Regions from separate parts of the Homo sapiens genome. Here region 2 is linked to region 1. Evidence: promoter capture Hi-C in 16 types of primary human blood cells and fetal thymus (Javierre and others, 2016). All regions are on one chromosome and are shown on one strand. The core of a region is centred on a gene start or on the middle of the fragment in contact, and the rest is flanking DNA. Distances in the headings are between cores, read along the strand shown.

The links. Contacts are between HindIII fragments. The CHiCAGO score rates a contact against its expected background, and 5 or more counts as called.
Region 2: a contact is called between a fragment that was not itself captured here and the fragment with the promoter of CCR8 in region 1, in 1 of 17 cell types (neutrophils). The highest score is 5.2, in neutrophils.

The regions. Positions count from the first base shown.
Region 1 is chr3:39,325,707-39,331,860 of GRCh38, forward strand. CCR8 (C-C motif chemokine receptor 8) reads left to right here and starts at 4,003. Exons shown (of 2, transcript NM_005201.4): 1 at 4,003-4,123. RefSeq lists enhancers at 2,145-2,234, 2,585-2,674. The HindIII fragment of the contact is 11,619 bases long and covers 1-6,154 here.
Region 2 is chr3:39,063,620-39,069,514 of GRCh38, forward strand. It overlaps WDR48 (WD repeat domain 48), which reads left to right. Exons shown (of 19, transcript NM_020839.4): 3 at 2,192-2,270; 4 at 2,929-3,011; 5 at 3,127-3,256; 6 at 5,152-5,240. Among named protein-coding and RNA genes, the nearest start is that of WDR48, 15 kb to the left of the region's middle. The HindIII fragment of the contact is 3,739 bases long and covers 2,328-5,895 here.

The sequences.
Region 1 (6,154 bases), core at 2,753-5,252:
GAGATTTAGCCGGGCATGGTGGCATGCACCTGTAGTCCCAGCCAATCTGGAGGCTGAGGCAGGAGAGTCTCTTGAACCTGGGAGGTGGAGGCTGCAGTGAGTTGAGATCATGCTGCTACAGTCCAGCCTGGGCCACAGAGGAAGACTCTGTCTCAAAAAAAAAAAAAAAAAGAAAGGCCGGGCACAGTGGTTCATGCCTGTAATCCCAGCACTTTGGGAGGCTGAGGCGGGTGGATCACCTGAGGTCATGAGTTAGAGACCAGCCTGGCCAACATGGTAAAACCCCGTTTCTACTAAAAATACCAAAAATTAGCCAGGTGTAGTGGCGGGCGCCTATAATCCCAGCTACTAGGGAGGCTGAGACAGGAGAATCACTTGAACCCAGGAGGCAGAGGTTGCAGTGAGCTAAGATTGCACCATTGTACTCCAGCCTGGGCAACAAGAGCAAAACTCCGTCTCAAACAAAACAAAACAAACCACTAAGAGATCTAATCAATTATTCTGGCACACAAGGTAATATGAATTTCCTGAAAATGCAACTAAAAATACGTTATTAACCACATTTCTCCATATTCAACCCTTCAAATCAAAATTATGATGATACCTTTTTTTGTATTCTGACAATTGTCATGATTACTCTTATGAAGGAAATAAATAGTAGTAAAAAAGAAAATCTGTTTCTTGTTACTCTTTTTTGTAATCCATATGGGAAATTAAATTATATAGACAGCAAAACTGGCTTTACTATTAATAACACACGAGCTTTTCTTAAACTCTGGCTTTGTCTAACACTTTTCGTTAAGCAAATGCATTTTTACCCTACAAATCACTGAGGGACTGACATATAGTTGAAAACTATAGAAAATACAGAAAGACTTCCTCTAGTCTTATCCACAACTCTTCATAATGTTATTGCACGAGAATTTTGAATGTGGTGCAGTAAGAAAAGCACCCTCAGCTGTGCCTCGGAAGACCTGAGTTCTGGCTCTGGCTCTACCACCAAATTACTGTGTGATTTTGGGTGAGCCACTTTGCCTCTCTGGACTTAAATATTACTACTTTGAAAGAAAGAGAGGGAGAGAGACATCAGCTGTATGACCTGAGGCCATTTTCTGCCCTAATACTCTATGACAAATATCTGTGATAGTAGTAATTTCTACATTTACACTTAGGGTTTATTTAAATACAGTTTTTTCTTTCTCTTTATTTTGGAGGAAAGGAGGTCAAATATGCTGCTAGTCTCTTTTTCCCTCTGAAGTGAAATACAGTCTTTTGAACCTTTGGAGGGACCCAGTAGAATTGAATTTAGATGGGATGTCCCCAATGGATCTGATCCAGCATTTTCAGAACCCATTGAATGTGCAGCAGAAGGTAGACTTGGAGAGGCCATTGGCTCTGGAGGGGTCACACTACTTTGGTTTTGTAGTTTGGTTTCTGCTGCCTTCCCATAGAATGCCTGAATCCCTGATGTAGGCCCAAAGGTGAGGAACCAAGGCTTGTCAGTTAACTATGTCACAGTTTGTCTGTCTTCCGAGTCAGGATGTTGTGGGTTGAATAATGGTCAACCAAAGAGATGAAGTCTTAATTCCTAGAACTTGTAAATGTTACTTTACTTGGGAGAAGAGCTTCTGCAGATGTGATTAAGTCAAGGATTTTGAGATGGGGAGATTATCATGGATTACCTGGACGGATCCTAAATCCAATCATGAGTGTTCTCATAAATCAGAGGTGGGTGAGATCTGATGCAGACACACAGTGGAGAAGGAGATGTGAAGATGGTGGAGATTAAAGTGATGTGGCCACAAGCCCCAGGTTTGCTGGGGCAGCCACCAAGAGCCAGAAGTGGCAAGGAACAATTCGCCCTTCAAGCACCCAGAAGGAGGCAGCCCTGCTGGATTATAGCCATCTGGCCTCCAGAACTGGGGGAGAATACACGTCTGCTGCTCTAAGCCACTAAGTTGGTGGTAATTTGTTACAGCAGCCACAGGAAACAAATACACAGGTGACAGCAGGCAAGTGTCCAGTCCTGCAGGGGCCCACACCAGCCCTCAGATCTGGCTCAGGAAACACAAAAAGAGGAGCATCCTTCCATTCTGGCTGTTCAGTCCTTTCCTCCAACTCTTCACCAGACTCCACATCTCCACCTTGCCTCATTCTCTCTGTTCAACTATTTATTAAGAAGTTGCTGTGCACTAAGCACTGTGCCAAGTATGGAGGAGCAGCTGATAAAAGAATCCTCAGGAACTGAAGATAGAGACTGTTTGGGGTTTAGATCAGCTTGCACTAGAAACTGGGCTTGGGGGGAATTCCACCTTAGTCCCTCAGGCCTTGCTTAACTGGGCTTTGGAGGGGAAGGTGGCTTCCCCCACACCTGCCCTCACTGATGAGGCGGTCCCATAGTTCCCACCATCATGACATGGACTAGTAATACCTGAGGGCCCTGAGTTCTCCATCGGCTCACCATTGATCTTTGCTTATCACATACAAAACTCTCATAAAGGAACTGGGTTTTCCCCAAACTGCGTCAAAACATGAATGATGGTGAGGGGAATTTGCCGAGGTATGAATTCAGGTACCAGCAGATATTTCCTTTTATTTTTTCTTTAGAGACAGGTCAGTGGCTCAATCATAGCTCACCTCAAACTGCTGGACTCAAGTGATCCTCCCACTTTAGCTTCCCAAGTAGCTGGGACTACAAGTGCATGCCACCATGCCTGGCTAATTTTATTTAAAAAATTTGTACAGATGATGCATTAGTCCGTTGTCACACTGCTATAAAGAAAGACCAAGATTGGATAATTTATAAAGGAAAGAGGTTAAATTGACTCACAGTTCTGCATTGCTGGGGAGGCCTCAAGAAACTTATAATCATGGTGGAAGGCAAAGGAGAAGCAGGCACATTTTTCACAGGTCGGCAGGATGGAGTGAGTGCAAGCAGGGAAAATGCCAGGTGTTTATAAAACCATCAGATCAGATCTCTTGAGACTCACTCACTATCATGAGAACAGCATGGGGGAAACTGCCCCCATGATCCAATTAACTCCACCTGGTCCCGCCCTTGACACATGGGGATTATGAGGATTATAATTCAAGATGAGATTTGGGTAGGGACACAGAGCCAAACCGTATGAGATGGGGTCTTGCTATGTTGACCAGTCTGGTCTTGAACTCCTAGGCTCAAGCAATCCTCCTGCCTCAGCCTCCCAAAATGCTGGAATTACAGATGTGAGCCACCGTACCTGGCATCCAGCAGATATTTCTACTGCATTTCTCCAGGAATGAGTGGGTTGGAGATGAGGAGATTCTGGAACTTCTGTCATTTCCTCCCAACAATTCTGGGACTCATGTTCACTCTCCTGGGATAGGGGAAACTGACTTAAAGTGATTTTCAAATGGCATTCCTGTTGAAAGAGTTAATATATGTACATGCATACAACATACACACACATTTGTGTATGCTACATACCATGGAGGAAAGCCAGTCCTGGTATAAATTGTATAACTTCAAAATAATAATGGAATTATGATTTCATTTTAATACTGATTTCAATTAAAAATTTTAATAGACTATTTTTTAGAGGTTTTAAGTTTACAGAAAATCTAGGTAGACAACACAGAAAATTCCCATTAACCCCTGTATTAGTCTGCTAGGACTTCCATAACAAAATACTACAGGCTGAGTAGCTTAAACAACAGAAATTTGTTTTCCCACAGTTCTGGAGGCTAGAAGACCAAGGTGCCCACAAGTCTGGTTTCTGGTGATGCCTATTTACCTTACTTGCAGATGGCTGCCTTCTCCCTGTGTCCTCACATGGCCTTTCCTCTGAGCACCTGGAGGCAAGAGAGTGAGCTCTGGTGTGTATTCCTCTACCTAGGAGACACCAGTCCTATTGAATTAGGGCCTCAGCCTTACGATCTCATTTAACCCTCATTGCCTCCCTTTAGGTGACTAGGTGTGAGGGTGGAGCCCTCAAGAGACTGCCTTCTCTCCATCTGCTGTTTGTAGTGGGAGGATACCTCCAGAGAGGCTGCTGCTCATTGAGCTGCACTCACATGAGGATACAGACTTTGTGAAGAAGGAATTGGCAACACTGAAACCTCCAGAACAAAGGCTGTCACTAAGGTATGTGCTACAAGCATCCTTGGGGAAGAAGGGCATGAGTAGGCAGGGGCATTTTTATATCTTTAGAGGATAGGCAAAGGGAAGACCAAAATTTCAGAGGTCTAGCACAAGAAGTAAAATTTTTTTTTAAATCTTTGCATTTCCTCAGAGCCCACAAACATGCATGTGTCTTAGTGGCTGCCCATGCTCTGGCTGAGGAGAGCAAACCGTGCCATATTCTCTGCAGGCCTTTAGGAGAGAGTGAAAACTCCTACAAGAGTGGGAAGGTAGATAAGAGAAGATCCTTTATAATACCAGGCATCTGGGAAGATCTGTCCTTGTGCTGGGTACAGGGCTTCTATCAGGTAACTGAAGGACACCTGGGTGCTGTTCTTAAGGAAAGAAGCCAGCGAGCAAACTTTCATATGACTAAAGAAGTTGCTGGTGGGTGCCTGTAGTCCCAGCTACTCAAGAGCCTGGGGCAGAAGGATTGCTTGCGCCCAGAAGTCAGGGCTTTGTGTGAGATCACACCTGCGTATAACTACTGTACTCCAGCTTGGGCAACATAGTGAGACCCTGTCTCTAAAAAAATAAATAAATTGCTTGCTTGCTTGCTTGTGCTTTCAAATCATAGAAAAGTAGCAGAGTGGAGAGGGGTGTCTGAATGTAAAGCAAACAAATGCCTTGGAAAAATATGTCTGGATTGAAATTGCATTGAATGTATATATCAATTTGAGAAGAATTGTCAAGTTTTATAATTTTTATGTAACTGAATTGCATTTTTATTAGTTTTATTCCTAGTAATGCTAGTAATTTTCATTGCTAGTATAATTGGGATCATTTTTCTATTGCATTTATAAAGTTATTTTTTTTCTGGTGCTTAGGAAAGCAATTAAAAGAATAAACTGATGAATATCATGCAGATATATCTCTAAAACAATAAGCAAAATACAAAGGGAAAAACAATATATCATTTATGTAAGTTAAAACAATATATCATTTATGTAAGTTAAAACACACAAAAATATATATTGTTTATGGATATATATAAATATGTAAAAGTACAGGGGGAAATTGTTTGGAATGATACATACCAAATTGGTTTTAGTTGTTGTTTCTGTTATGGGGATAAGTTGTGTAGTTAAAGGGAACATTAGCTTCATCTCTATTGCATCAGAAATAAAAAAAGAAAGAGGGATGGAAGGAAGAGAGGGAATGAGGGAGGGAGAAAAGAAGGGAGAAAAAAAGAAGGAAGGAAGGAAAAAAAAATAACCCAAAGCATTGTGAGAATATGTTAGCAGCTGCTAATTCTAGGTGATGGAACTATGGGTATTTACATTTTCTTTGTAAGTTTTGGCTTTTCTCATCTCAGCTGACTCCCTTTGGTTTACATAACAAAATACAATAGACTGAGTGGCTTAAACAACAGAAAGTGTTGTTTAACATACTTCTAAAGGCTGGAAGTCCAAGACCAAGCTGCCAATGCAGTTGATTTCTGGTGAGGCTTCTCTACCTGGCTTGCTGATTTCAGCCTTCTTGCTGTGTCCTCACATGGTCTTTACTCCATGCACAAGGGGAGCAAAATTTCTTGTGTCTCTTTCTCTTCTGTTAAGGACACTAGTTCTATCAGATTAGGGCCCTGCCTTTTTTGGTTTTGTTTCTGTTTTCTTTTTTTTGAGACAGAGTCTCACTCTGTCACCCAGGCTGGAGTACAGTGGCTTGATCTCGAGTCATTGCAACCCCTGCTTCCTGGGTTCAAGAAATTGTCGTGCCTCAGCCTCCCGAGGTAGCTTGGATTACAGGCATGTGGCACCATGCCTGGCTAATTTTTGTAATTTTAGTAGAGACGGGGTTTTGCACTGTTGGCCAGGCTTGTCTCGAACTCCTGGCCTCAAGCAATCCGCCTACCTTGGCCTCCCAAAGTGCTGGGATTACAGGTGTGAGTCACTGTGAGAGCCAGGGCCCTGCCTTTATAACCTCATTTAACCTTTTTTTTTTTTTTTTAATTTTAATTTTTTTTTTTTTTTTTGAGACAGAATCTCACTCTGTCGC
Region 2 (5,895 bases), core at 2,947-5,446, 260 kb before region 1:
CTCACAAACCCCACACGGCCTAACTAGGTAATACAAGGTTAGGCTGAGCATGGTGGCCCACACCTGCAATCCCAACAATTTCGGAGGCCAAAGTGAAAGGATTCCTTGAGTCCAGGAGTTCGAGACCAGCCTGGGCAATGTGACAATACCCTGTCTCTGCAAAAAAAAAAACTTAAAAATTAGCTGGGCATGGTGGCACACACCTGTAGTCCCAGCTACTCGGGGAGCTGAGGTGGGAGGATCACTTGATTGAGTATGGGAGGTTGAGGCTGAGTGAGCCGTGATCACACCACTGCATTCCAGCTTGGGCAACAGAGGGAGACCTTGTCTCAAATAAATAAATAAAGATAATATAAAATTGGTGTTAAAACTATGAAGACAACATGCTCCCCTTCAAAGATTTCCCTTTCTTAAGCAGGGAACAGGGTTTAAATATGTGTAAAGATAAATCCCCAGGCAAATGGTAACGAGCCCTTTTAGTATTTTGTTGGAACACCTATATTGTGAATGACAGAGAAAAGAAGAATCAGGGAAGAAAAAAAGAGCATTTATTGATCTTCTAATTATGTGCCATACGCTCTTTGCATTTTCATATCCAATGTGATTTTAATTTTCAGTGTCCCTCAAGGTACCTATTAGGATCCATTTTCTTTTTTTTCTTTTTTTTTTTTTGAGATGGAGTCTCGCTCTGTCACCCAGGCTGGAGTGCAGTGGCGCGATCTTGGCTCACTGCAACCTCTTGACTCCTGGCTTCAATCAATTTTCCTGCCTCAGCCTCCTCAGCAGCTGGGACTACAGGCACACGCCACCACATCCAGCTAATTTTTATAATTTTAGTAGAGACGGGGTTTCACCATGTGGGTCAGGCTGGTCTCAAACTTCTAGACTCAGATAATCCAACTGCCTTGGCCTCCCAAAGTGCTGGTATTACAGGCGTGAGCCACCGCGCCTGGCCAGATCCATTTTCATAGATGAGAAAATGGGCTCAGAGAAACCCATGGTTATGTGGCTAGGAAGTGACAGAGAATTAGTACCCAGCCCAACTTGAAAACCCTAGTGCTAGACCTTGTATTTTTAAAAGTTTGTGTCTTTTTAGCAAGTTTTACAAGTCTGATATTCAGTTCAGAAAAAGAACCACTACTTTATGCGCCTATAACTTCAGTCTGGCAGGCTTTGAATTCTTTAGCCAATGGACCATGCAGTGGTGGCCAAATGTCAAAAGCATGAAAAGTAAGAAAACTATGTTTGGCTTTGAAATGCTTTTTGGTACTTATAATTGAATTGGAATGTCTCCTTTCTGAGCATTCACAGTATTTCAAACAAATTAAGAAAAACACCCAAAAGAACTAACCTGAAGAATCTGGAAATCTGCCTGTCTTGCCCCAAACATCTTTTTTCTGGTCTTCCTTTTATGACAAGATTGAATAGCATTATTTGTCAAACAGACTTGTACAGAGCTGTTCTGTTTGCCCATAAAGTGTCTCAAACTTGCCTGTTTTAGGTGTAGGATGTAACTAAATACTGTTCTTTAAAAGGCCTCTCCTGGTTATTAAGCCAGGTAAGAGAAGTAGAATCTCGAATCACCTAATTGAAATGGTGACACAGGTTGTCCTTTCTCAGCCGTTGGGTTTCCTTTCATCTCTGAAGGCCTGTAGGTACCATGAGGAAAACATTTAATTCAGAGGGTGAACCCAACAGTAGGAAGCTGAAAGCAGAAGTGTTTATCTCCCTCTGCATTCAGACCAGGCTCCTTAGTGCACTCATCAGACTCATTGCTGCCCCTGCTGTCTGCTGTTGAGCCTTCACCACCACTCATTCAAATCCCCACAGCCTACAGATTCCTACAAGTCATGTCCTTTCTAGTGAACCCTTTTTAAAGGGTTTTATGTCACACACAGTGCCTAGTCCAGAGCTTGTTGCCTTCACTTTAACAAGGCAAAAAAAAAAAAAATGAAGTATTTGTCCTGGAAACCTAAGCTTTCAGTAAGAGTAAAACTGTCCTGAAACAAAACTGTTTACATCTGTTATCTGGAAGCATCACCTATTTGGTGAGATTCTACTCAGAATTCAGGTGTTAGTTTTAATGCCTAGAGCAGTATGTCACATTAATTGAAGAATTTAACCATATCTATCATTTGTAATATATTTCATTCTCTCATATAAACTCTTAGGATTTTTCTTTTAATTTCAGCAAGATCCATATATAGCATCTATGGAACACCATACTGATTGGGTAAACGACATTGTACTCTGTTGTAATGGGAAAACATGTAAGTATTTCTTTGGATTATTATTGGGCTTCTGATATATTTTTTGTTTTTTATATAAGCTTTTTTATTGAAACATACATACAGAAAAGTACACACACTTCGAGATTGCAGTTCAACACAATTTTAGAAAGTGAATACCCAAATCAAGAAACAATATTACTAGAAGCCCTCTTGTGCCACCCTTTGCCACCCTTTCAGTTATTCCCTCTTGCCCCAAGGTAACTGCTCTTCTGTCTTCTGAACACCAAAGGGTAGTTTTGCCTTCATTTGAACTGTATATAGACTCGTACTATATGTATTCTTCTTTTAGCCTTATTAATACCTCTTTTTGTTCTAATTTTGGTGAGATCCATTCCTTGGTTTTGCAGTCCGAGTTACAGGAATTTTTCTCAATCACATTAGTTGAGCCTTCAACTGGAACATTAAAAATGTTTGCACTGCTTGTTTTAAAAATATATTTTTTTCTTTGAACATGTGTCTTGAGATTTTAAAAAATTGAGGCAATATACAATAGGTTCTAGAAAGAGCTTTTAGGTATGTTTGTGTGTGTAAGAGAGAGAATATGTTAGTTTGAAATAATGTTACATTGTTGTAAGATAAGTTTTCAAAGTTTTAAGTCATACTACTAAGGAGTTTGTTAATTCTTTGCTTCTTCTAGTAATATCTGCTTCTTCTGACACGACAGTAAAAGTATGGAATGCACACAAGGGATTTTGCATGTCAACATTAAGGACACATAAGGTAAAACAATACAGTTCTCAGTGTCTTTAGTGTAATATTGGGATCTCAGTACTTTGTGTGGCTCATTTTATTACTGATCTACAGAATAGATCATAGTATGTCTGTTCTATTACAGGATTACGTAAAGGCCTTAGCATATGCCAAGGATAAAGAACTAGTAGCATCAGCTGGGTTGGACAGACAAATATTCCTTTGGGATGTGAATACTCTAACAGCATTGACTGCCTCAAATAACACTGTCACAAGTAAGGTGTTTAAAAGAAACTTCTTTGAAAGTGATCCAAGTTAACATAAATAAAGAATGGTTTATAAAACATTTTTGATAGGTTTGCATCGAGAGAGTGTTTCATATTTTGAGAGTGCTTCTACCTACAGCGTTCTGGCCCCCAAGAGTATGATTGAACAACAAAGAGCTAGTTCCTCACTGCAGTCTAAAAATGGTAACTTCTCCAGGTATAACCTGGTTATTTTTTGTACGTGTGCATGTCTTAGCTCCCTAGCTAAAATGTAAGTCCCTGCAGGGTAGAGGAGACTGTCTTACTACTTCGTATCTCCCACAGCATTCCCTGGTCCAAATCCATACACTCAGCAGGTATTATTGAAGGAGGTGGCGATTTTCTGACAAAGTAGGCGGTTTTCTGACTTTTTAAAGTGTTAAGAGCTTTTGAGTTAATAGCCAAGATGAAAAATACCCAGGAGAAAGAAAGAAAAGGTTTCCAGTGCCAGTTTATCAAATTTTCTGCCTTTTAGAGCAGCCCTGAGGAATCAAGCCAATTCCAGAAGAGCCAGAACGGTAGAGTGCTTCTAGAGGCAATCCAGAGATGTTCACAGCATGGATGATTCATCAGCTAAGAGATCTCAGACTACCAAGTCAGGCTCATACAAGTCTAGATTTGAAATTGAGCTTCATGCTTGGCCCAACCTAGTAGAGTCCTCTAGGCCAGGTTTCAGAAGGGACTGTTAGGAGCACATTTTTGGCTAGGCCTGACCTGGAAAGTCTACATTGAAGACATGGGCCTGCATTCTCTGGATCCCTACATTATAGGTCCATTTTATAACGACTCTGTGGAGTGTTCACATTGACATAGACAATACAGTTTTACTAATATAGCCTAGTATGTGCCAAGAAGGGTAAGTTGGGAGACTTGTGTTTATAATCTCTTGATTGTTGTTTTGCCTTGTTTTCCAGGAAATATGTGAAGGTCTCAACATTCTTTTTCCCTTGTTCTTGATTTTTCACCTGTACATTATCTCTGATTCATTAGCTGGTCCCTGTTGGGGCTGTCATGGTACATCATTAGGTTTTAAGTCTGGATGTAAGGCCTGCCTCAAAGAGACACTAATGGGAGGGAACAAAGCAAAAAAAAAAAAGCAGGTTGTCACAAGGTCAGGGCCCAGGCTTAGTGGATACAGATTCTGCTACATCTTGCTTAGAGTTGTTTAGAGAGGATATCACACTTTTTTTTAATACATAATAATAAAAATAATACTAATAATGGCTAACCTGTATTGAGTACTTGCTACAAGTAGACATTTTTCTAAACAGTACATGTAGTAACTCATTTACTCAACTTTTTAATATGTTTGTAAAATTGGGTTCATACTATATAGACAGTTTCATATACATCTTTTTTACTTCAGTGATACTGAGAGTATGAACATGATTTTTGCTATAGTCTGAATTCCTTCCTGAAAGGTTGTACCTATTTATCTTCACATAAGTAATATATGAGAGTTCCATTGTACTGTTTTCTTTTTACAATCAAGTATTACCTTGTTTTTTGTCTTGGTGTATGAAACAGTGTTTTTGGTTTGATTTGTGTTTGAAAAATACTGAAATTGAACATTTTTTCATATTTATGGCACATGAATAGCTTTAAACATATCATTTAAGCGGATAGCTTTTCAATGGCACTGCAGTTTATCAGATATTGAGCATTTGTATATATTCAAATCCAGAAAATATGTAAATTTTGATAATAATACTGTTTAGATTTATCTCCATTATAGGTAGATTTCTTTTCCGTAGAGGACTTATAAAGATAAGATTTTCTAAATTGAATAAACTTGCAGTTTTTGCTGACTAGTTACTAAACAGCTGATGATCTTGTTAACATTTAGCTCCGTTTATCCTCAATAGCTTCTTCTTTAAGTGGAAACAAAGATTCCATTTATAGCCTGGCCATGAATCAACTGGGAACAATCATTGTATCAGGGTCCACTGAAAAGGTAAGGAGGAGCTTATTTCTTTATTTAAAAAAAAAAATTATTTTTCACATACCTTGTCTCCTATTTTTTAAGCAGGTATTTTACGATTAGCTTCTTTATATTTATTTATTTAGAGACTGGGTCTCACTCTGTCACCCAGGTTGGGGTGCAGTGGCATCATGATCCTGGCTCACTGCAGCCTTGACTGCTGAGGCTGTAGCGATCCTTCCACCTCAATCTCCTGAGTAGCTGGGACCCCAGGCACACACCATCACGTGCATCAGGCCACTCCTTGTCCCATCTGGCTAATTTTTGTATATTTTTAATAGAGACAGGGTTTCGCCATGTTGTCCCTCCAACTCCTTAGTGCAAGCAATTCACCTGCCTTGGCCTCCCAGAGTGCTGAGATTACAGGCATGAGAGCCACTGTGCCCCAATCGGGGGAGCTTAAAGGGTGGTTTGAACATTAGAAAATAAAGAAACCAAAATAATTTAATCTGTGTAATTATTAAATATATGGACAGTGGTTTTGCCTAGTGGGTGCTAAACAAAAGGTTTTATTTGAATAAGTAAGAGTATAACTATAACTGTTGTGTGTATAGTGACAAGATAAAGAGGCTGTGCATTTTTGATGTTTGAAAGGCCTAATTCCCTGAGGTTGGGAGGCTTAGACAGT